Linked DNA regions of Homo sapiens: all the other regions are linked to region 4. Evidence: promoter capture Hi-C in 16 types of primary human blood cells and fetal thymus (Javierre and others, 2016). All regions are on one chromosome and are shown on one strand. Each heading gives the region's core, a stretch centred on a gene start or on the middle of the fragment in contact. The rest is flanking DNA. Distances are from core to core; before and after follow the strand shown. Region 1 holds the start of OSBPL8 (oxysterol binding protein like 8). Region 2 overlaps NAP1L1 (nucleosome assembly protein 1 like 1). Region 3 overlaps GLIPR1 (GLI pathogenesis related 1). Region 4 holds the start of TBC1D15 (TBC1 domain family member 15). Region 5 holds the start of ZDHHC17 (zDHHC palmitoyltransferase 17). Region 6 holds the start of CAND1 (cullin associated and neddylation dissociated 1).

Region 1 (3,794 bases), core at 523-3,022, 4.7 Mb after region 4:
ACATGGAATGTGACCGCAATAACTTGATGTCCATAATTAAAGACCCAAAAGGTAGCTTAAGTTTCATCTATTTCCTTTCTCAGCCCTTTGAGCAGGTATATTATAGTCACTCCATACACGGTTAATATTAAAAAAAAATAAAAGTAACAAACATTTGAAATTAGTTGTACTTTTATAGAGAACAGTTTTAAATTGCATGGCCTTACTTTTCCTATTCCAACCTATTTTATAAAACTAGCATGATCTTAATAATTTCACTGCAAAACAGGTTCTAGCAAGCATAGAAACTGATCATAGCCTCTCAGCAAAATCAAGTTTAGATGAAACTCTAGGAAATTAGCAAAATTTAACAATCAATTCACCCACGATTCTCCACAATTCTTGCTCTCTCTAGATACGAAGGGAGGCAAAAACTGTTTTAAAGGATTATTTCAAAAGCAGCACTAATTTTGGGAAAAACTTAACTGCCATGCAGGAGACACTGTATTACTACTCAGACGTCATTTAAGTCTTCTAGCAGCAGAAAGGCAAAAACATCATTAAATTTTTTATTTAATGCATATATACTTACATTATCAGTTAAAGTTTACCCATCTGTTTACGTTGTCCAAGTTACCTATTATTTCAGAAAGCATTTAAATAAAATGAAATTAGGTTACGTTCTGCAACGCAGATGTGTCTCATAAAGAAGAGTGTTAAATGACTTTTGTGAATGGAAAATCTGCATATACTGTTGCTTCGCCTCAGCCAGTCTTGAGTGGGTGGTTCAATGAACCTAAAGCATGCTGCCTGTGAAGCTCCTTGGAACCTGATTCCACTCTTGAGAGAGGGCTTAGAAACAAACATTAAATTTAAAAGCACAGCAAAGGCTTGGCTTTCCTCCTACGTTACAAGAAGGCCGGGAGAACTGAGGCTTAGAGGAACAACACCGTGTCGCTTGGCTCTGCAAAGGCGGGTGCGGTCTGCGGTGCGCGGCACAGCCTTCTCTGGGGCTGTCACAGGAAAGAAGGAGCCTCGCCTTAACCGCACCGAGCGACAAAGCGCCAGCTCTCCTGGGCGCGGGGGCTCCCAACGAGGCCCATGCCATCAACCTATCAAACTTCAGGAGGGACAGACACCCGGGGCGGTCGAAATGCTCCAACAGCCTCCCACCCCCGTTCCCCTGCCGCGGCTTTTGTAAGGCTGCAGATGCACCTACTGTGGGCCCCTAAACACTCCACCCTGCCAGCCTTTCCAATCCCCCTACTCCAAAAGGGAACAAAGGAGCCAAAGAACTCCTCGGCGGGGGTGGCCAGGAGTCCCCGACAGCCCGAGCTCAGAACGTGGCAATAAGGGTGCGCAGTCGCCCTGAGGGGTGCGAACCCAGCACCCCAACCTCAGGAATGGAGCAACACTCACCCGTGCGGAGCTCCCAGGGAGGCGGGACGCAAGGAGCCGGTTCCTCCGAGGTCGCCGCGGCGCCGGGGTCCGAGGCCCCGTAAGCGTCTAGTCAGACCCCAACTTCTCTCGGCCGCTGTCGTCGGCGGCAGCTGGGGCGCGAGCCTGGACGAAGGGCGCTGCCCAGCGGCCGCGGAGGCACTGCCGGCTCAGCCCCCGAGCGGGGCGGGAACTTTCGGCCCCGAGGTCCACCAGCCCGGGCGGACCCCCACCTTCCCTCAGTCGGCTTGCTACCGGCAGCGGCTACTGCGGCGTCCAAAGCTAACACTACAGCCGCCGCCTGGCCAGGAGCGCGTCGCGGCCTAATGTTGTCATCCGCCGCGTCGCCGCCTTTCTGGGCACCCAGAACCGCGAAGATCCTTCACATTCTAGTGCCCTCCCCCTGCCCCGCCCGCCCCCCGGATCACGGGCTTCGGCCACGCCCTCTTCCCGTCACGTGACGGTGCGCGGAGGCGGTGGTGGAGTTGCTTCCCCTGCTAGGCGGGCTCGAACCGGGCGGGAGTCACTGTCCACCTTGCTTCGCCAGGGTGTTATCGCCAGCCAGTCCCCTTCCGCATGCCCAAGGGCAGCCTCAGGAAGCGAGCCCACCACCGTCGGCCCAGCGCCTGTTGATCGGCCAGGCCTTCTGGGCCGGTCATACTGGGCCCTTCCTAACCTGAGGAGATTGCACAGTAGGGCTCCCTGGTCTGGTCAGGGCTCAGTTAGGACCCCTCTCCAGCCTTAGGCTTGGTGAAAGCTTTAGCGAAACAGAAAAAAGAACGCATCGTGGTGTAGAGTGTATGGCCTAAGAAGCATTCGGTAACTAAACTACTTGTTCCTATTTCTAGTGGCACATTAACCGTGGCATTTAATTTACTGCTTTCCTCATTAGAGGTTTTTTTTTTTTTGAGGAAACGGTGTATTTCAATCATGCTGGGATGAAAACAGCCTAGCAAACTTATTTTTGTTCCTTGTTATGTTCAGGATCCTGCTGCCAGTTTTACAGTCATTAAGTTTTACAGTGTGTTAGGTTGGTGACAGTTTAAACGGGTACGCAGGAATTTGACAGTTTGTTCCATTTTTTAAAATAAAGCCTAATTCTTGATTTTTTTTCTAATGCCTTAATTTTTTTTTCCTAATTCCTTAACTCTAGGACTTAACCTTTTGCTTTCTTTTTTAGCCATGATCCGAAGAACCCTCTAGCCGCCTAATGAAATCCTAACTATACAGAAGTAAGGGAGGTAGAATAAAGATCATACTCAAACCCTGATCACAATGAAGGCAAATGAGAAAGCTTTCTGTAATAATTAAATTGGGGTCATAACTCATTTTCCCTTGTAGCCCAGAACTAAGGATTTTTTTCTTAAGCTATTCTCATCTCATTACATTTTCTTAACAAGAAATCAGAAGGCATTCTGATAAGCTGGATACATTGAAATGAATAAGCAATAGAGTTTGGCCTATATAATTATTATTAATATATTTCATAGCAGCTCTAAAAAAATCATAGACTTACATTGTTTTATGTTACCCAAGAAAGAAAACAAAGGCTGCCAATGAAACTATGCCATACCGCTGATATGTAAGGCACCTTTAAGCCACATCTTTTTCCTTTTTTTTTTGAGACAGGGTCTCACTCTGTCTCCCAGACTGGAGTGCAGAGGCGCAATCTCGGCCCACTGCAATTTCCGCCTCCCGGTTCAAGCGATTCTCCTCCCTTAGCCTCCCAAGGAGCTGAGATTACAGGCATGCGCCACCATGCCCAGCTAATTTTTGTATTTTTAGTAGAGAGGAGGTTTCACCATTTTGGCAAGGCTGGTGTTGAACTCGTGACCTCAAATGATTCACCCGCCTCGACCTCCCAAAATGCTGGGATTACAGGCATGAGCCACCGCGCCCGGCCTGAGACACATCTTGAATTCAGAGATGTAAACATGTCAGAAACAACGAGTCTTAGAATCTCTGAGATATTGTCATGAACTGGGAAACAACGAGTCTTAGAATCTCTGAGATATTGTCATGAACTGGGAAACAACGAGTCTTAGAATCTCTGAGATATTGTCATGAACTGGTGTTCCAAAGAGGAAAAGATTCTACCAGGTTCTGTTCTGAAGCCTGAGAGACTGTAGTACAAATAAATGTGAAGGAAGTTTATTATTCTGTGACATTATTTCAGCAAAGCTAGTAACTTTGGAGTTTGTTAACAGATTAACTTGTCTCCTGTTTTCTAGAGGCATGTTTTTCAACCTGCAACTCAAAAATCAATTTCATTTTTATATGAAATAGGCTAGGATGTAATACAATATAAAATACCAGAGTGCATAATGTCTAGTAAGGGCAAAAATTGCTTCCTGAAACTTTTTGTTTCAAATATGGTG
Region 2 (3,762 bases), core at 454-2,953, 4.2 Mb after region 4:
AGTTCTGGGAGCAGGAGGACAGAATATTTGAAGAAGTTAATACGCAATAATTTTCCATTTCCTTAAGTGATGAAAGACACCAATCCACAGATTCAAGTAGCCCTACAAATCAAAACCATAAAATAAAGAATCCATATATATATATACACACACACACACACACATATATTTATCCAGCTCCGGATACATCAGTAAAAAGGCAAGATAGCAAAAACAAATTCATCTCAAAAGCACACACAAAAAAGGTAGATTAACTTCAAAGGCACAAAAAGACTGACAGCTGTCTTCTCTTCAATAAGACACTAAAAGACAACAGAATCCTCAATATGTTGAAAATAACTAAGGCTCTTAAAATACTATCCCCAACCAAAACATCTTTTAAGAATGAAGGTGAGGCCATGTGCGGTAGCTCACGTCTATAGTCTCAGCACTTTGGAAGGCTGGGGCAGGAGGATCGCTTGAGGCCAGGAGTTCAAGGCCAGCCTGGGCAACACAGATCATCTCTACAAAAAATTAACATGCCTGCTGTAGTCCTAGCTACTCGGGAGACTGAGGCAGGAAGATCACTTGAACCCAGGAGTTTGAGGTTACAGTGAGCTATGATCGTGCCACTGCACTTCAACATACCTCCTTAAAAAAAAATCTGTAATGTAAAAGACAGTTTCAGAATAAAACACTAATCAGAGTTGGTATCACGTATTAATGTCAGGAAAAAATAGACTTCAAGGAAAAACATTAAGATAAAAAGGTCACTTTATAATAAAAGGTTCATACATATATGGTGTGTATAAGATCTCAAAAGACATAACTGACCCTAAAAACATGCTTGAAGGCATTTTTTTTTTTTTTTTGGAGACAAGGCTTTGCTCTATTGCCCAGGCTATAGTGCAGTGGCGTGATCACAGCTCACTGCAGCCTTGACCTCACAGGCTCAAGTGATCCTCTCACCTCAGCCTCCTGAGTAGCTGGGACTACAGGTATGCATTCTCCACCACACTCAGCTATATTGTTTTAATTTTTTTTGTAAAGACAGGGTGTCTCACTATGTCGCCTAGACTGGTCTGGAAATTCTGGGCTCCCGCCTTGGCCTCACAAAGTGCTGTGATTGATTACAGGTGTGAGCCACCACACCTGGCCTCCTGAAAGGAAATCTTCCTTCCTAAACTGAACTAAAAACAAAATCTTCCACTGAAGAGGGGAGGCAACTGACTGAACTAATTGGATACATAGAGCTGACATAAGGCTAAGAAACCATTACCCAACTGCAGTCACATAACGTTTCAGTCAACACAGGACTGCATATACAACAGTGATCCCACAAGATTATAATGGAGCTGAAACATTCCTATTGCCTAGTAATGTCACAGCTCAATTCATTATTCATGTTTGTGGTGATGCTGGTATAAACAAACCTACTGCAGAGTCATATAAAAGTATGGCACTTACAATTATTTACAGTACATAATACTTGATAAGGACAATAAATGATTTATTGGTTTATGTATTTACTATACTATGCTTTTTGTGGTTAGAGTACACTCCAACTTATTTTTAAAAAAGTTAAAACTGCCTACAGTATTCAACATAGCAACATGCTATACAGGTTTGTAGCCTAGGAACAACAAACAGGCTATACCATATAACCCAGGTATGTACTAGGCCGTACCATCTAGGTTTGTGTAAATACATTCTATGACATTCACAAAAGGATGAAATGGCTTAATGATGCATTTCCCCCAGAACACATCCCCATCATTAACCATGCATGACTGTGTATGTAAACAAATTCTATGCTGGAAGAAGACTTCATGACCATAACTGCTATACAGCTTTTCCCTAGAGCACAGTGGGATACAAGGTGGAGTGCTTTTGAATTTCATGCTGCTATGGTTTGAGTATTTGTCCCCTCTAAAACTCAAGTTGAAATTTAATCCCCTATGTGGCAGCACTGAGAGATGGGGGTCTTTAAGAAGTGATTGGATCATGAGGGCTCCACCCTCACAAACGAATTAATCCATTCATGGATTAATGTATTTCTTTATAAATTACCCAGTTTCCCACCAGGGGAGCTGGAGAGCCAAGCTACCCAGTTAGCACACTCAGCCCCCTCCCCATGTGATACCCTGTACTGCCTTGGGAACCTTCAGAGTCTCCACAAGTAAGGTTCTCACCACATGGGTCCCCTCGATCTTGGATTTCTCAGCCTCTATAACTGCAAGAAATAAATTCTTTTTTTTTAAATAAATTACTCAGTTTCAGGTATTCTAAGCAACAGAAAATGAACTAATATTCATGCTGATTTATAGCAGAACAGTGTAAGTCAACATTCTTTCAAAACCAGGATAAAAATTATCTCATCATAAGTTATCACTGCTCACGTACGTAACCACGGACGGGTTATCTAACCACTCCACACCTATTTTTTTTCCTTGTTAAAATGTTGATGCTACCTGTCTCTAAGTAAATTAAATGAGCTAATAATACACACAGAATTTAAAACAATGCCTGAATAATCAATCAGTGTTGCCTATTACATTATTTATCCCTGTTATGCTCTTCTGTACCCTCTTTAGAAAATAATTCCAAGACTGAAATTATAACTCTAGACAGGTGTGGTGGCTCACACCCATACACTCAGCACTTTGGGAGGCCAAGGCAAAATCGCTTGAGGTGAGGCATTTAAGACCAGCCAGGGCAACACAGCAAGAGCCTGTCTCCACAAGGAAAAAATATATATAACCCTGTTTCCCAATAAAAATTAAAATGTACAAAACTTCTGAATAAGTAAAAATATATACAAATATGCAGGAAGTAAAAGGCAGAGTTGGTAACCAAAGGTATAGAAGCCATTTTCTATGGCAAGCCCACTAATGTACTCTAATGTTCTGTAGTCATTGTGCTAAACGACTTACATATGGATAGGTGTAAAGTAACAACTCTCTCCTTCTAACCCCTATTCTGCCCAAAAACTTATTTAGATGAAACTAGTTTGAAATGGAACTTAAAATCATCAAATTATAACAGGTTCCTTTGTGTAAACGCTGTATTACTCTTTGACCCCTTTACCCTTTCCTTCCTTTATAGCTCTCATCACAATTTAACATTCTACATCTAAGCAACCAATTTGCCTCTTTTGCTCATGACATAAGATACATGTCCATACAGGTGCTAGATAGTTACCCAAAGACTAAACTGAGAACACAATTACAGGTTTGATTAAACTTGAAGATCTGAATACACTGATCATTAATATTTTGATATTGATGAGTCATTCTCTCTAATCCTTTGTTTCAAATTTACAACCAAGAAGTGAATAAAATATTGTATTTTGACATCTTCAGACCTTTGAAGTCCAACAGATACTGCTTCTTTAGCCCCTTCTACAAAAAGACCCTTAGTTTTGAATATATTTTGAGAATTTAGAATCAACTCAGTTTTACCAGGAGCCAACAGGAGCAAGCTGAATAAAATGAGATGGCATTTTGGATTACATTAGTTATGGTACAGGTATTCGTTTCAAAAATCTCATTAAAGGCCAAGTGCAGTAATTTACCATATTCAGTATTAGCTTTATAATTCTGCAAATCAATGGGCCTAATATAAAAATAGGCACTTTGTAGCAGATAAAATTTAGAAAGATATTCAAATTGGTATAGTGAAAACTTTTAAATTTCTATTTACTAACATAATGTTGACTTGGAGAATCTATGAAAGTCAGGTTTTATGACAGAAGATGTCCAAGTCCACCTACCAGGGTTTAGT
Region 3 (3,633 bases), core at 1,051-3,550, 3.7 Mb after region 4:
GCTGTCTAGTGGAGAAAAGAACAGCAAAACTTCCGTGAAGAAAAGTTTGGCAAGTTTAAACCACAGAGACTGGTGCCCTCGGTCTGCTAAACAGATGAAACGGGGGGAGGAAGGCAGTTGCAGATCTAGCGGGAACTTTTAGATCATGACAAAGTTTACATAAGAAGTCATTCAAGTATATTAAGCAGGGGAGCGATGAGACCTTTAAATTTGGACATCAGTCTGGATGGAAAATGGATTAGAGGAGCATAAAAGGTAAAACAGAGAGACCAGTTAGGAATGTCCTCATTTCCCTTTGCCCTCTGCCCTCTGAGGTATTATTTTCCTATACACAAAAAGTTGTAGGCCCCCATTCCACATAATCTTAGGAAGTCCAGTATCCTCCTCAATATTTCTGATACCTCAGAATGGGGTCTGGGATGCTTAATCTTCCAGTTGCCTGTAATACTCTCCTCTTCATTTCCCCTGGGCACCATGAACAAGGGTATGGTGTGTAACAGATCTTTACTCAGAGTGGATTAGTGGAGGAGAGGATTATAGCACAGAAGAGGAAATAACTTTGACCACAAGATAGTCAAGATAGTACCAGTGTGCTTAGGCCGTCACTGCCTTAGGGACCCTTACCCATATTTATCTTTTTCTTTAAAGATTTGTCTTCGGTCTTCCCCTGGGTCCCATAACCCCAACCCTCTTCTCTCTCAGGCTACCAGGGAAAACATTGAAATGTCCTGTTGCTTTATTGTGCTGAATACTTTAGGTCCCACAGTCTTAATGACTCCCATCTAGACAAATCCAGGCCTTTCCAGTAGCATGTTTCTCCCAAGATGAATACTACCATTTCCACAGACCTCACCGACTGTCTTGGTTTTTAGCTTATTTTTAAGTAGCATTTTTTACCTTTTCCTTTACAGTTTGGAATGCACAACTAAGTATCATAAATGACTTTATTAAAATCATTCTAGAACTTAAACCACTTAATACTGTGCTTATTAACAATGAAAGACATTCCAATGATTAATGTCTATTTTGGACATCTTTTGAAATTGCTATCAGAATTTCTACTATATTACCTTTTTTCCATGGTGTAGAGTAAGCAGAGGGCTAATTAAATTTCTGAAGCAACTTAAAATTTGGAGCAAAATGAGATAAGAACATAGATTTGGGGTTGGAAATAAGGTATCGTTATAAAGTTGTGTGTCTAAGGTGAGAGTTCTCAACTTTGGAGGTAATTGTAGAGTGCTGGGGAGAGGAGGACCATAAACTTTGATTAGAAAATAGTTTTATTTTTATTTTCACTAACCTCTATTAAAAATAACATTTCCTTTCATTATGAATGAAGACAACACTCCACCATCATATTAGCAATAAACGTGACTCTGACTTAGCAGTATCATCTTTGTAAATATCAGATATTTTCATACCACATTCCACTTGCTGCAGAGAACTCAAAATATAGTTTGTGTTCATCACTGCATTGAAACTAATAGCCCCCGGTAGATCTTAATAGAGAAGCACATATTACTTTATCACAAATCTTGTTTTAAACATTTTGATAACTATTTCAATTTAATTGGTTTCCTTTATAATCCTATGTATTTTATGCATTTAACAACAAACTATGTTGAGAAAGAGCCCATAGGCCTCACCAGACTGCCAAAGGGTACGATTACACAAAAAAGTTTAGAACTTTTTCCAAAAGCAGAGTTCCAAAAAAAATTAGTGCAATGGCAGGTTCATTGAGATAAATGTGCCCCCTCTCCCCATTACTACTATGAGGATATTTATGGGGATATAAAATGCTTGGATATTATTTCACTTTCTAGTCTGTGACCTTGGTCAATTACTTATACTCTGTGACTCAGCCTCTAGCTATATAATGGGTATAAATAGACAACAGTAACTTCCTCATAGGGTTTTTGTGAAGATTATTTCATTCAAGGTTGTTTAGAACAAAGACAAGCACATGGTAGTGCTCACTAATTAGCAGCTATTATTCATATCACATCTTGTATGTGAAAACAATTTGTACTTTAGAAATTCCCCCATACCATTATTTATTATTTTTTTGGAAGGCACCAGCCAAATGGCTCCTATCCAGTGAAAATTATGGAGGGCTGACCAACTGAGAATATTGAATGTGGGTCACCATAGCTTTTCTAAGATGGACAGTTTTTTAAATGGCAGTAATCATATAGGCCAGAGGGTAGGTAAAGAGAGGGAGCACAGCCCTGGAGTTAAATCCAGGTTTCCTCTGACTCTGAAGTGTATAAATTGTGATTAAAGGTATCTCTTACATCTTTTGTCTCATCTGTAAAACAAGAATAACTTCCTCTCAGAGCTGTCACAATTAAATGGGATGCAGATTAAAACAGGTGCATAGACACAGGTACATAGAATGAACTATGCAAATATTAGCAGCCTTCCATTTCTGCCTTCCTGTCTTCACTTCTATTACCAACTCTCTGGACCTTTGTACTTCACTCCACTATTCTTCTGGATTTAGTTAAGGATTCATAGTAAATTGCAATTTTAAAAAACCGAAAAACTTCTAATGGACATCCTTCTTCTGCTTTACAGAGGGAATTACCCAACTTGGCCATATAAGAGAGGAGCCACCTGCAGTGCCTGCCCCAATAATGACAAGTGTTTGGACAATCTCTGTGGTGAGTAAAAGGAACAATACACCAATAGAATAACATAATAGTAACATGTAACTTTCTACAGAATTAACAATGAAACCATGTTTTATCTTAACGGCTATCTTCAAGGAAACTGGCATCAAGTAGCAATTAAACCAATGGCTTACTGTTCTAGGAATACATTTAAGAGAAATTTAAATGTGAAAATCACGTTCTTTTTATTTAGTTCTAATTGGTCAAACAACAACAACAAAAAAAACTGTCAGAAACTGTAGACTAAGATTCCTAAGATTTGCTTATTTCAGCAAGATCAAAAATAAGTATAACAGGTCATCCAAACAAACAGAATTCTGTTTTCGTTTTTTTTTTTGTTTTTTTTTTTTGAGACAGAGTCTTGCTCTGTCACCCATGCTAGAGTGCAGTGGTGTGATCTCAGCTCACTGCAACCTCCATCTCACGGGTTCAGGCGATCCTCCTGCCTCAGCCTCCCAAGTAGCTGAGATTACCATGCCACCATGCCCAGCCTGGCCAACATGGCAAAAACCCCCTCTACTAAAAATACAAAAACTAGCTGGGTGTGGTGGTGGACGCCCGTAACCCCAGCTACTCAGGAGGCTGAGGCAGGACAATCACTTGAGCCCAGGAGGTGGAGGTTGCAGTGAGCAGAGATTGTACCACTGCACTCCAGCCTGGGTGACACAGTGAGGGTCTATCTCCAAAAAATGAAAATAAAATAAAGCTGCAACATGGCACTTTTTATTAGCCAGACAGCATTTAATGAAGAAGTGTAGAAGCTGCAAGCAGTTAAATTTCCAAGGATGTTTTACTAAACATCCAAGCAAAATTCTGCTTTGTGATTTTGAAATATTAGTAAGTGACCAAGAGTTTATTTCTTGTTCTTGTTCTAGACACAAACCCTTCCATCCCAGTATGTTTTTTTACCATGGTGTGAAGGGGAAACTTCAATTAAGCTGTGCAAAGCCTGTGGTACTTT
Region 4 (3,685 bases), core at 247-2,746:
ATTCCCTGCCAAGCTTGGGCATAAGGGTCTTGGTCATGGTTGGAATCTCAGATACCTAGCACGCAATCTCCCTAATATGCTACGCATTCATTCCCACCTAAGGTTCCACCACTTTCCTCACCTATTAGGTTCCTGGTAGTCACATAACCGGCAACTCTCCTTTTCTGTCGTTCAGCTAGTTGCCACCTACCTCAACCAAACTCAAAAGCCTCTAACCCCTCTCCACTGTGTGAAGACGGAAGTACCTCAATGGACACAAGTGTTTTTGGTGAAAGGGACTTTTTATTCTGCCCCGGAGCTAGGGAAATCCCAGATCTGTGCCAGAGTTATCAAGGGGGTAGTATATAATCATTCTCTGCATTCTTTTACAGCACTGAGAACAAGTAAAATTCTTACCTTAGTATCTTTACAAATCATTTTACCACACATGTATTGTCGTATGAAATCCCTACAACCACTCCATGCAGGAGTAATTCCCAGTTTACATCCTGAAGCTCTGATAAATTTAGAAACCTGCTTTAAGTCACAGAGCTAATAAGTAATGTGTAGGTGCTATAAACTATGTGCCTTGGGCTCTGCAGCTATGAGGGCGTGGTATTATCACAGTTCCTATCGAAATACCTTGCTGGAGGTCATGTGTGAGTGGCAGTGACCAGACAAATAGAGAAACCTCATATACAGAGGGGAAAAGTCTCCATGTATAGTGCCTGGGATATCTCCATGTTAGTGCTGCTCTTTCTTGGATCTTCACCGCAACGCCACTATCTTGATTTTACTATAAGAAACTGAGGTTTCGAGTGCACTGGTGATTTGCCTACTGCCACAAAACCAGGCTAATGGGCTGGGCGCGGTGGCTCAAGCCTGTAATCCCAGCTCTCTGGGCAAAGGCTGAAGCGGACGGATCACCTGAAGTCAGGAGTTCGAGACCAGCCTGGGCAACATTGGCGAAATCTCGTCTCTAATAAAAATTTAAAAATTAGCTGGGCGTTTGACGCGCGCCTGTAATCCCAGCTACCCGGGAGGCTGAGGCTTGAGAATCGCTTGAACCGAGTGGCGGAGGCTGCAATGAGCCGAGATCGCGCCACTGCACTCCAGCCTGAGCGACAGAGCGAGACTCCTTTTCTACAACAACAACAAAAAACCAGGACAAATCTTGCTGGCTTCCAGTATGGTATTCGTTTCATCTCACCAAACTGGCGTGGCCTGCGCTAGCTTCAGAGTCTCGACAAACTCCAATACAAGTAAGGTACACATTATTTTAGCAGTCTTCCTTGGGGAGGACGTGGGGCAAGCACAAGCGTAGCGTTAGGCCTGAGACTCCACCCCAGCCGTCTCTGAGCCCAGTTCAGCACGCACGCGTCAGGCGGCTTTTTTCCGCCCGGCTCCTTTCCTCCACTCCCTTCCCGCCACTCCCCGCCCTTTTCCCGCCCGGATGTTATTCTAGTTTTGCCGGATGTTGTTGTATGTCCGAGAGACACGTGAGGTTCTGCTACGTCATTACCAGGCACGCGCAGGAAACATGGCGGCGGCGGGTGTTGTGAGCGGGAAGGTAGGTAACGGCCTCCAGGAAGACCTCGGCTTTTCTCTGGGACGGGGATGCTTTTGCTCCCTGGCAGCTGGTTGGGGGAGGGACACGAGGGACTTTCTGTGTCCGGACAACCCGTGGCGTCTGTAGGAGAAGACTGGGTGGTACCAGCTGGTTTCCCGAGAATGCCAGTTCAGCCGCGGAGTTATAGAGCCGGCTACTGCTCCAAGGCCAGCTAGGCCTCGGCGCTCTTCTGCCCCAGAGCAGAGAGGCTTTTATTCGTATTACCTTTACTAAGGGACAGGTGGCTCTCTAGTTCCTTTTTTCCCCCGATTCACTGTTTCTTGACTCTAGTTCTTTATGTCTACTCTTCTGACTCCAGCGTCTTTTCTCTCTTTGAAGCGTTAACCCGACTTGCCTCTGTCTTCTTTGCTACAGTTTGGTGAAGATGTTTATGCTTCCTTCGGGAGGAGCTGAATAGATGCTAGGCAGCTAGCTGTGCGCTTAGAAGAAACGAGTGTATTGGGTCTGTTTTTACCAAGCTGCTGAGTTGGTTGGTGGTTGTGAGCAGCAGGACGTGTTTCCTGAGAGAAATGGAGATTTACACCATCCTGTGCTTGTCTAGGAAGGCGTCCAAATATTTATTTCCTAGGCATTTCAGTAGGAGTATTGGTCATGCTGGTTTACGGAGGTGGTCAGTGACACGCCTAATTTCGTTGGAAACTAGAATTACGTGCGGAGATTTCGTCGAATAGTGCCTATTCGCGTTCCGAGGGCACATCTTATGCATAGTTAGGGCTATCAGCTTTATGATATGCCACCGATAGTATTTCCCAGTGCAGGAGTATTTCATAAACAGCTGGAATCAACTGAAGTGACTCATCGAACACTAATGGTTGTTTACTCATTGCAGATAGCGTCCTCTGTTCCTTGAGTTTCACTCATGTCTCCCTGTTGCTTTCCCTACCCCATTTTGAATTATTTGACAGCGTTTGTGGTTTGGTGTTTGGAGTATTAGACTAGGCGGCTGAATGACAAATATGGGCTTGGTTTTGCTGTTAATCTGAAGTATGACCTTGGAAAATTGGGCAATTGTGACTTTTGTCTTTTCGCGTTCTTTATCTGTAGAATGGAGGAGATGCCAATCATTATTTCTTGTATTGGAGTTGTTAGGGTTATATAAATTTTTTTTTAAAAAAACATAAAATTACACACTTGTACCTACTGGCTCTTTTAAAGGATAGGTGGGCATCCTTTTTTGGATTATTCGTGCTCCTTGGTTGTCTTGTCAGTTTTTTTCTTTTTATATTCAGGGTGGATGCTGATATACTGCTTGACTTACTGCGTATTTGAAGATTATCCTGTTTGATTTTCCATCTAAACTGATCCAGGCTGGGACTTTTCAAGAGGGGATCCCTTCCGTTTAAACATCTCCCTCTTTCAGGTTTGGATTGATTTTGAAAGAATCCTTGAGGCAATGAAGCAGAGTTGTGAAATGAAAAACATTTTTCACTCTTTGCAGCCACTACCTTTCATAGTCTGACTTCTTAAAGTGAGACTTATATTTAGTAATTCTGCTTCATAACCTCATTTATTCTCATTCACTGCAAATTCACATCTATTGCCATCACTCCACTGAAACTAGTTTTCCATGCCAAAAGCTGCTCCTCTCCCAAGTAATACTATCATGACCAACAAAACCCACTTGTTCTTCTCTCAGTAAGTTCAGATCTGGTTTAATGGCATCATCTTTCACCTGGTTGCATGTTAAACATACTTGGAGGCATTCATTCCTATAACACTCTCTAATCAATAACCATGTCCTACCAGTTTTACCTTAAGAGGTTTCTTAAATTTACTGCATCTTCTTTACTATCAGCGCATAGTTCAGGCTTTTAGTCTGCTTCTATTCTTGATTTCTTGGCTGATTTTACTCCTTTTCTACAGTCTCTGCCCTTAATCTTCTCTACACCACCACTGGAGTTATTTTTCTAATGCGCAAACCTGATAATCTCTTGATTTAAAAAGCAAATGAAAACTCTTCACTTTTTTATCGTCAGCATAATAATAATAATAATGAAAGCTGGTTAATGTAACATAAAAAGACATGATACCTTTATGCTTCCCTACTTCCTAATCTTTTTTCTTTAGGAAAGGGGA
Region 5 (3,672 bases), core at 850-3,349, 4.9 Mb after region 4:
AGACGCGGGTGGATCACCTGAGGCCGGCAGTTCCAGACCATCCTGACCAACATGGAGAAACCCTGTCTCTACTAAAAATACAAAATTAGCCGGGCATGGTGGCGCATGTCTGTAATCCCAGCTACTTGGGAGGCTGAGGCAGGAGAATCGCTTGAACCTGGGAGGTGGTGGTTGCAGTGAGCCGAGATCGAGCCATTGCACTCCAGCCTGGGCATGAGTGAAACTCAGTCTCAAAAAAAAAAAAAAAATTGAGATTTTTGAGTGAAAATGACTTATGTCCATGTTAACATATGACTGAAAACAATTCGATGCTCCAAGGGCCGACCCTGAGACTATCTAGCTGTAAAAGATGACTCCTAGTTTGGGCCAGGACGAACAGAATGAAAATCAGCTCGGACTGAAATGAGAAAAAGTAGTTGTGCTGGGAGGACAGATACAGAAAAAGCCAGCAGCAAAGTTAACTGAGAAACTTCTTTCTCCCACAGCCGTGCAGTAGCTATGACACGCCATATTCACCCCTCTTTGAGTAACTGCTGCTCTTACTAGTGTTGCTACTTTATTACTGGAGGTACCTAATTACTAAATTGCTGTATCCTCAAGACAGCATCCAATCCCTCGTAAATCCCAGCTTTTCTTCATGCCGCCACGGAAACGGCGTCCCATGCAGAACTGATTCTGGCTCTCCTTAGACCCTCCTCAGACTCCTTTGGCGGGAAACTAATCTTACAAAGGAGGCTTCCTCTTTCCTTTTCCAGTGGCATTCCAAGCTTCCTTTGGAGTGCCCTCCCTCCTGATTTACAAATTGGCCTGACGTTATCGGAGTACAGGCTTTTTCCTGGTGGTTTCTGGCCTAACAGGAGACAGATTAGTAAGTACCAGGATCTCTAATAGGTCAACTTTCATGATCTCTGCTAAATTCTCAGCTGTTTAGACTTACAATTTTTAACAGCTAAAAGGAAAGACAAATGCTATCTAAAACTGTCCCATCAGCCCATTTACAGGGAGCACCTCCCCCATACCGCCCTAAAATCCTTTAAAAAATGGCTTTAGTCATTTTATCTGCCTTGCATTTAAGCGAATTCAGTTTAAGTGGCTTCAGTTCTGAATTCCTGGATTATATCGAAATGTTGCAGATGGCGGTGTGTGGGCTTTGAGCTCGTAAATTTTTTGTGTGGTACTAATTCAAGACGATTGAGAGCAGGTTGGGATCATTTTAAAAAGAGTTCTCGGCAGGGTGTGGTGACTCAAGCCTGTAATCCCAGCACTTTGGGAGGCCGAGGCGGGCGGATCGCTTAAGGTCAGGAGTTCGAGACTAGCCTGGCCAACATGGTGAAAACCCGTCTCTACTAAAAATACAAAAATTAGCCGGGCGTGGTGGCGTGCACCTGTAATTCCAGCTACTCGGGAGGCTGAGGCAGGAGAATCGCTTGAACCGGGAGGCAGAGGTTGCAGTGAGCTGAGATCGCGCCATTGCACTCCCGCCTGGGCGGCAAGAGCAAAACTCTGTCTCATTAAAAAAAAAAAAAAAAAAAAAAAAAAAAAAAAAAGGGTTCTCTAGTAGGAAGTCCCGAGTTGTATCCATGTTTTTCCGGGCGTCCCCCGGAGGGACAGGTTGCGGGTGACCTTTTCAAGTGTGGAGGAAAGGGAAGCTGCTTTTGTCTTCAGGAATGATGCAGGTCTCGACTCAAGCCTGACGGGCCCAAACCTCCCTGGAGCTGGCTGACGACTCTGCCCGAGTTCCTGAAGAGGGGTCCCGGGGGTCCCGGAGCGGAAGTGGGAGCGCGTGGGCGTGGGCTCCTCGGCTGCCTGGGGCTCCAGACTTGTGCTGCGTGCGGCTCCGGAGCTCTGTTCTCGCTCCTGAGCAGCTGCTAGGTTTCCCAAGCGACTGTCTCAACCGCCCGGCCGCCTCCCCCGGGCAGCCAGAGCTTCACATCTACCTCCAGCCGGGACCCGCCCCCGAGCCGCGGGGCCCACGCCCAGAGCCCTCCGCCGTCCCCAGCGCAGTGCAGCAGAGCGCGATCCAGTCTGGGGCCGGGCCGCGCTTCCGCGCACGCGCGGAGAAACCCGCGCCCTCCGAGGGGGGAGGGGACAGAGGGGGCGTCACGGGGGCAGGAGAAGAAGGAGGAGGAGGCCCGCGTCGCCTCCGGCGGGGCTCGCGCTCGCCCCGCGCTCGCCCTCCGCCTCGCCCGAGCCCCGGGAGGGTGAAACGCTTTCTCCCAGCATGCAGCGGGAGGAGGGATTTAACACCAAGATGGCGGACGGCCCGGATGAGTACGATACCGAAGCGGGCTGTGTGCCCCTTCTCCACCCAGAGGTGAGGAACCGTGCTGAGTGGATTCCTTGCCCTGCGGCCCTCCAGCCTTTCTTCCCCGGACTCGCCGAGGGCGGCGGCCGACGTGTGTGGGGTAGTGGGACGTGCCGAAGTTGGGGAGGGTGGGGAGGCGAATCCAGGCCTGAGCGCGGCTGCGAGCGGATAACGGGGGAGGAGATAGCGGGGCGGGCCCGACCGGGGCGGGCTCTGGGACGCAGTCCCTGGCTGTGCCTGGAGGACAGAGGTGGAGGTGTTGATGGTTCTGCTGTGTCGCCGCGCTGCGTTTGAGAGCAGAGGCGGAGGGGCCTGGTGTGGTTTTTGAACCGCAGCTTAGACCCTAGTCTTGCTCCAAGCCTCTTGGGGCCAGGTGGAAGCGCGTCTGGTTTTGATTTCTTTTTCCTTCGCCAGGGTGAATGACGGTATCTATTGCTTCCTTTTAGTCCACTGTGAGGGGACAGTTTCATGGGCATAGTGATGTCCTTCCAGGTAATGCCATGGGTAGCACCTCGGGCACCTTGTGTCGGGCGTCCTTTTTTGAGCATTTGTCCTTAAGCGATTAAGAAGAGAGGTAAAAACTTTTGGGAATAGACTTACACTCACATTAGCTTGTCAAAGTACCGTTTTTCTAGGAGCTAGGGGTGGACAGTGCAACACGTTTCCCATCACAACATGAGTGTCTTCCCATGTAAGTAAACAGTGCCCCGCTCCACAGTCAGTCAGTCTGTGCTTGTTTACCTCCGAGTTTGTAGCTGAGCTAGTGCTAGTTAAGGCTTGGAAGCAATTCTTGATGCATTCTGATTTTTAGTGATCCACAGTGATGTCTGTATGCGGCAGCGGCACAGTTTGCTGAAGAACTCGGGTAGTTTTCATGAGGTTAAAAGATGACAGTCGTGTTGTAGGATGAACAAACATGGAAGTCTCTACCTGGTTACTTTGCAATGGAGTGATTCTGTTTTTTTCTGGATTTGGGTTTGTACCATGCCACTAGTTTTTGTTAAAAAGTGAATAATGACAACCATCCTTTTATGTTGCATGTTAACACTCAACCACCCTCTCATTCGTCACTTTGGTTTATCAAAAACACATGGGACAGTTCCTTCGGAATATATACCTGTGCCAGTCTCAGTAGAAAAGGCTACTCTGGGTTTCTGATAAACAGAACTATACAGTAAGACTAAACACTTGTCTGACCAAAGTGGTAACATTTTCAGAACTGGCATTGTAGACATCTCTTTTGGTTCACTTAGGCCCTAACATACGTCAGGAAATAGACAAAGTAGTTTTCAGATGTTGCCTTGAAAATGTTGCTAAGTGATTTCTATTCATCTGTTCCTGTGAAAGTATTCGTGAAAGTATTTCAA
Region 6 (3,954 bases), core at 591-3,090, 4.6 Mb before region 4:
GACAGTTTGATGAAAGATATATTAATCATGGCAGATTGGTAAAATGAAATATGGCATTACTGGGGAGAAAAAATATCATATATTACGTATATATTATTATTATCATTTTAAGACGTTGTCTCACTCTGTCGCCCAGGCTGGAGTGCAGTGGCACGATCTCGGCTCACTGCAACCTCCGCCTCCTGGGTTCAAGCAATTTTTCTACGTCAGCCTCCCGAGTAGCTGTGACTACAGGCGCGCCACCATGCCCAGCTAATTTTTGTATTTTTAGTAGAGATGGGGTTTCACCATATTGGCCAGGCTGGTCTCGAACTCCTGATGCCCTGATCTGCCCGCCTCGGCCTCCCAAAGTGGTGGGGTTACAGGCATGAGCCACCGCACCCGGCCTTTATATTACATACATTCAAGTAGAAGGATACATGAGAGCAGATCAGAGGTATGTGTGAAATTTAAACACATATTATGAGGCTAAACCAAGTTTCATCTGTTTTATTAACTCCTATTGCCTGACTTTGAAGTACTCAGTAATAGTTGATGAATACAGAAAACAATGGTAAAGGTCAGGTAGATTTGATCGGATTTGAGTTATGTGTTAGTAGAGAGCTATTTAAAGGTTTGTTGTTGTTTTTAACAGGAGTATCAAGTGAGATTGATTTTTCATCTCTTCACCAGGCTCTCTGTTCTTTTAGAAAGGCCTGTCAGCTAGCTCCATCCCTAACACTTTCAGGGATGTTGACCCCTAGCTGGCAAAACTTGTGTTTAAAATCCCAAATATTAAGCAGATGAAAAACTTGGATACTAAATACTTTCATAACTCATCTCCACGAATTTGTACGTCTGAGGGAGCAATACACAGCTGCAGGTCCATCAAGGCCACAAAAGCTAACTACAGAGATAGTCTTTTAGCTATTTTGAAATCAGTAGGGCCTGACTACAGCCATCTGTCGCATACCCATTACTCTTACTAAGGTCCTGCTGGCGTCAGAGAGGTGGTTCTACGATGCACGGTAGGAGTGTGTCTGGCCAGAGAAGTGGGGAGGCTCAGCTGCCTTGGGAGGTGCAAGTAGTAGCGCTAGGAAGCTGCTGCTAGGCCTCTGGCAAGAACACCAACTGATCCGCAATGCGCCTGGCCAAACTGCAGCAGCCTGCTCTGCAAATACTGCATAACAGAAAAAGCCTGTATTGGAGAATATAAGAATCCGCGGCAGAAACGGAGTGCGCGACGATTCTAAGGTTTTTACCCAGCACGGCTCCCCCATCAGACTGCAAATCCCAGCATTCACTCCTTCCACGGGAGCCAATGAGGAAGCTACTAGTTCCCGCAGCCAATCACATTCTGAGCCAGTGTATCACCCGACTGAATTCTGGGATTTGTGGTTTTTACGTGGCAACATTACACCACGGTGGCTACGGCAATGCAGGCCACGCGTCTGATCCCAAACGACACCTCCCTGTTATAAATTCTTATGTTGGTTCCGCAAGCTAACTCCTTAACTGTCGTTACTCCCAGGCTTCCTCCTTCTCAAAGCTCGTAATCTTTTTCTCTTAATGTCATTAAACAATCAAGTTATTTTCAGATTAAGGCCCACTTGCTCCACTCGTCCCCTGTCCCTTAACCGTCGCTTTAGAGTCTCGCGAGAACAGCCCCTTTTTTTTGTGTTGTCATGCCTCCAAAAGGCGGGTCACATGAAAACTGACACAGGCTTCAGCCAACCGAATTGTTTTTTAACTCTCTTCTCCACAGCGTGCGTGGGGAGGCCTCCGTGAACTCTGACCTTAGCTTTCCGTAGCGCCCGCGTCTGCCGCCCCCGCCCCCGGAGCGAAGGAGGCGGGCTTTGGCCTTTTGCCCTAGGGAGCGAGTGCGGAGCGAGTGGGAGCGAGACGGCCCTGAGTGGAAGTGTCTGGCTCCCCGTAGAGGCCCTTCTGTACGCCCCGCCGCCCATGAGCTCGTTCTCACGCGAACAGCGCCGTCGTTAGGCTGGCTCTGTAGCCTCGGCTTACCCCGGGACAGGCCCACGCCTCGCCAGGGAGGGGGCAGCCCGTCGAGGCGCCTCCCTAGTCAGCGTCGGCGTCGCGCTGCGACCCTGGAAGCGGGAGCCGCCGCGAGCGAGAGGAGGAGCTCCAGTGGCGGCGGCGGCGGCGGCAGCGGCAGCGGGCAGCAGCTCCAGCAGCGCCAGCAGGCGGGATCGAGGCCGTCAACATGGCGAGCGCCTCGTACCACATTTCCAATTTGCTGGAAAAAATGACATCCAGCGACAAGGACTTTAGGTGAGGCCGAGATCCGACCCTCACCCCACCTCGGGGTTCTCGCAGCCGCGGCCCTGGCCGTCACGCAGGCCTTGCCCCACCCCTTCGGCCGTAGCCGGTAGCTTCTCTGCCCCGAAGTCTCCAGCCCACCGGTCCGCTGGCCTCCCGATCCCTGCGGAGCCCCTTTCCTCTCCCCTCTTGCAACCCCCTCCCCCCATTCTTTCTCCTAGGCAGTTGCCCGCCGCGGTCTCTAGGCCCCGTTTGCTTGTCTCAGCGCCCCCACATCCTTCCCTGCCCCACCAGGAGGCGATTCTTGCGTCTCAGGTAGCGCGAAGGGGCTAAACCACCCACCATTGTGGAGAAGGGAGTTGCTCTAGGCCGGGAGACCGGGCGCCGGGCCTATTCGCTTGCCATCCTGCGGCGCTAGGCCGCCTTGCTCGCTGGGGCCCAAGCTGCTGCCCACTCGGGGACCCGGCAGCCTCCTCTCTGCCCGCAGGTGCGCGTGGGCCTTGCTGCATTCAGGTGGAATGATGAACTTTTGCGCTCTTGGCTGATACATAGTTCTTTTGTGGATTATTAATTTTCGTGAAGGTGGGAAGAAGGGGGAGGGGAGCCAGGATGGAGGAAACTTCGCTCATAGGGTTTTCCCGCCAGCATCACTGTCAGTTCCTCTTGTCAGGTAAAACCAACTTAGGAACTCGGGGTTTCAGTCTCATGTCCTCATATCCAAAATCACTGCCAAAGGGGTGGATTGCTGGATCTTAATCATAGCAGACGGATCTTCAAAAGGAAGAGATGTTTAATACGGACCTGGTGAATATGAAGCTTTATTACAGCAGTTCTGTTCAGGAGATCGGTACTGTTGGTTCCAAAGTGTTGTAATATGCATAGTGAAGATTTGTTATATTTTTACAGGTTATCTTTGTTTTTATTTTTCCTTGCACGCTTCGGTGATTGTTGCATTCTTTCCCGCCTCCCATCTCTTCACAAATAAGTTCTCAATCTAAAAAAAAAAAAAAAAAGAAAAAAAAATCGCTTATTTCCTTATACCTGTTTTGTTCTCTAATGCTTAGTGGTTGTAATTTGGGTGCATTTTAAAGGAAATAACAAATAGTCTTCAACTAAAATTGTGACTAAAGAGCTTGTTTGTTTTGTATGAACAATATGTTTTAACACTTGAAAATGTGTCCAAACCGTGTGGACTGGGAAGAACTTTTCGGATTTGTGAAAGGAGAACCATGAAAAAGTAGTAATTGTGTTCCTGATTAAATTGATATACTGGCTTATTAAAATAATCAATGACCACAAAACCACGTATTACTTTAAAAAATATTTCTACCTAGGCAGCTCTTAAATGTATTTAAAACTTAAAAATCATTTCGCTAATGGTAAAAATTTTAGTATTGTAACTTTTTGGAGGTGACATGTTTGTTTTGTGTGTTTTAGATTTGTGTAGTTCTAGGGCCAAAATTAAGATTCTTGGGGGAAATAAAGGTTTTGTGTTGTTTTACGGATTGGAATGCCGTTTGATTTTTGGGGCTTTGCTTGCTTCCAATTCAAGTAATGGATGAGGTGTGTGGCGTGATTTCCTCCCCATTGCTGTCAGTTTGGCTCATCCTGTAAAGGTGGTAAATTTCATTCTGATTGTGGTCAATTTCAGTCTGAAGGTAGCACTTTATAATAATACAATTTTGTTCAACTAGTCAT

Evidence for each region. The method cuts DNA at HindIII sites, captures the fragments that hold promoters and counts their contacts. A CHiCAGO score of 5 or more calls a contact.
Region 1: the fragment with the promoter of OSBPL8 here is called in contact with the fragment with the promoter of TBC1D15 in region 4 in 1 of 17 cell types (activated CD4 T cells); the score reaches 6.5 in activated CD4 T cells.
Region 2: a fragment that was not itself captured here is called in contact with the fragment with the promoter of TBC1D15 in region 4 in 2 of 17 cell types (non-activated CD4 T cells and total CD4 T cells); the score reaches 6.5 in non-activated CD4 T cells.
Region 3: a fragment that was not itself captured here is called in contact with the fragment with the promoter of TBC1D15 in region 4 in 1 of 17 cell types (activated CD4 T cells); the score reaches 6.6 in activated CD4 T cells.
Region 5: the fragment with the promoter of ZDHHC17 here is called in contact with the fragment with the promoter of TBC1D15 in region 4 in 5 of 17 cell types (total B cells, naive CD4 T cells, naive CD8 T cells and 2 more); the score reaches 12.7 in total B cells.
Region 6: a contact is called between the fragment with the promoter of CAND1 here and the fragment with the promoter of TBC1D15 in region 4, in 2 of 17 cell types (total CD4 T cells and monocytes). The highest score is 9.2, in total CD4 T cells.

The regions. Positions count from the first base shown.
Region 1 is chr12:76,557,999-76,561,792 of GRCh38, forward strand. It overlaps OSBPL8 (oxysterol binding protein like 8), which reads right to left and starts at 1,773. Exons shown (of 24, transcript NM_020841.5): 1 at 1,399-1,773. LOC105369850 (a long non-coding RNA gene) reads left to right here and starts at 1,904. Exons shown (of 4, transcript NR_188081.1): 1 at 1,904-2,235. RefSeq lists an enhancer at 694-1,003 and a silencer at 1,414-1,603. The HindIII fragment of the contact is 3,809 bases long and covers 1-2,171 here.
Region 2 is chr12:76,078,850-76,082,611 of GRCh38, forward strand. The region is part of intron 1 of NAP1L1 (nucleosome assembly protein 1 like 1); the gene reads right to left. Among named protein-coding and RNA genes, the nearest start is that of NAP1L1, 4.0 kb to the right of the region's middle. The HindIII fragment of the contact is 4,283 bases long and covers 1-3,762 here.
Region 3 is chr12:75,493,000-75,496,632 of GRCh38, forward strand. GLIPR1 (GLI pathogenesis related 1) reads left to right here. Exons shown (of 6, transcript NM_006851.3): 4 at 2,578-2,663. KRR1 (KRR1 small subunit processome component) reads right to left here. Exons shown (of 10, transcript NM_007043.7): 10 at 1-3,633. Among named protein-coding and RNA genes, the nearest start is that of GLIPR1-AS1, 5.0 kb to the left of the region's middle. The HindIII fragment of the contact is 4,702 bases long and covers 1-3,633 here.
Region 4 is chr12:71,838,263-71,841,947 of GRCh38, forward strand. TBC1D15 (TBC1 domain family member 15) reads left to right here and starts at 1,497. Exons shown (of 17, transcript NM_001146213.3): 1 at 1,497-1,549. The coding sequence starts at 1,520. The HindIII fragment of the contact is 6,842 bases long and covers 12-3,685 here.
Region 5 is chr12:76,762,016-76,765,687 of GRCh38, forward strand. ZDHHC17 (zDHHC palmitoyltransferase 17) reads left to right here and starts at 2,100. Exons shown (of 17, transcript NM_015336.4): 1 at 2,100-2,314. The coding sequence starts at 2,222. RefSeq lists enhancers at 1,598-1,697, 1,994-2,288, 2,264-3,106, 2,298-2,447 and a silencer at 1,838-2,247. The HindIII fragment of the contact is 3,524 bases long and covers 766-3,672 here.
Region 6 is chr12:67,267,518-67,271,471 of GRCh38, forward strand. It overlaps CAND1 (cullin associated and neddylation dissociated 1), which reads left to right and starts at 1,841. Exons shown (of 15, transcript NM_018448.5): 1 at 1,841-2,268. The coding sequence starts at 2,201. RefSeq lists enhancers at 977-1,276, 1,417-1,676, 1,956-2,607. The HindIII fragment of the contact is 8,089 bases long and covers 1-3,070 here.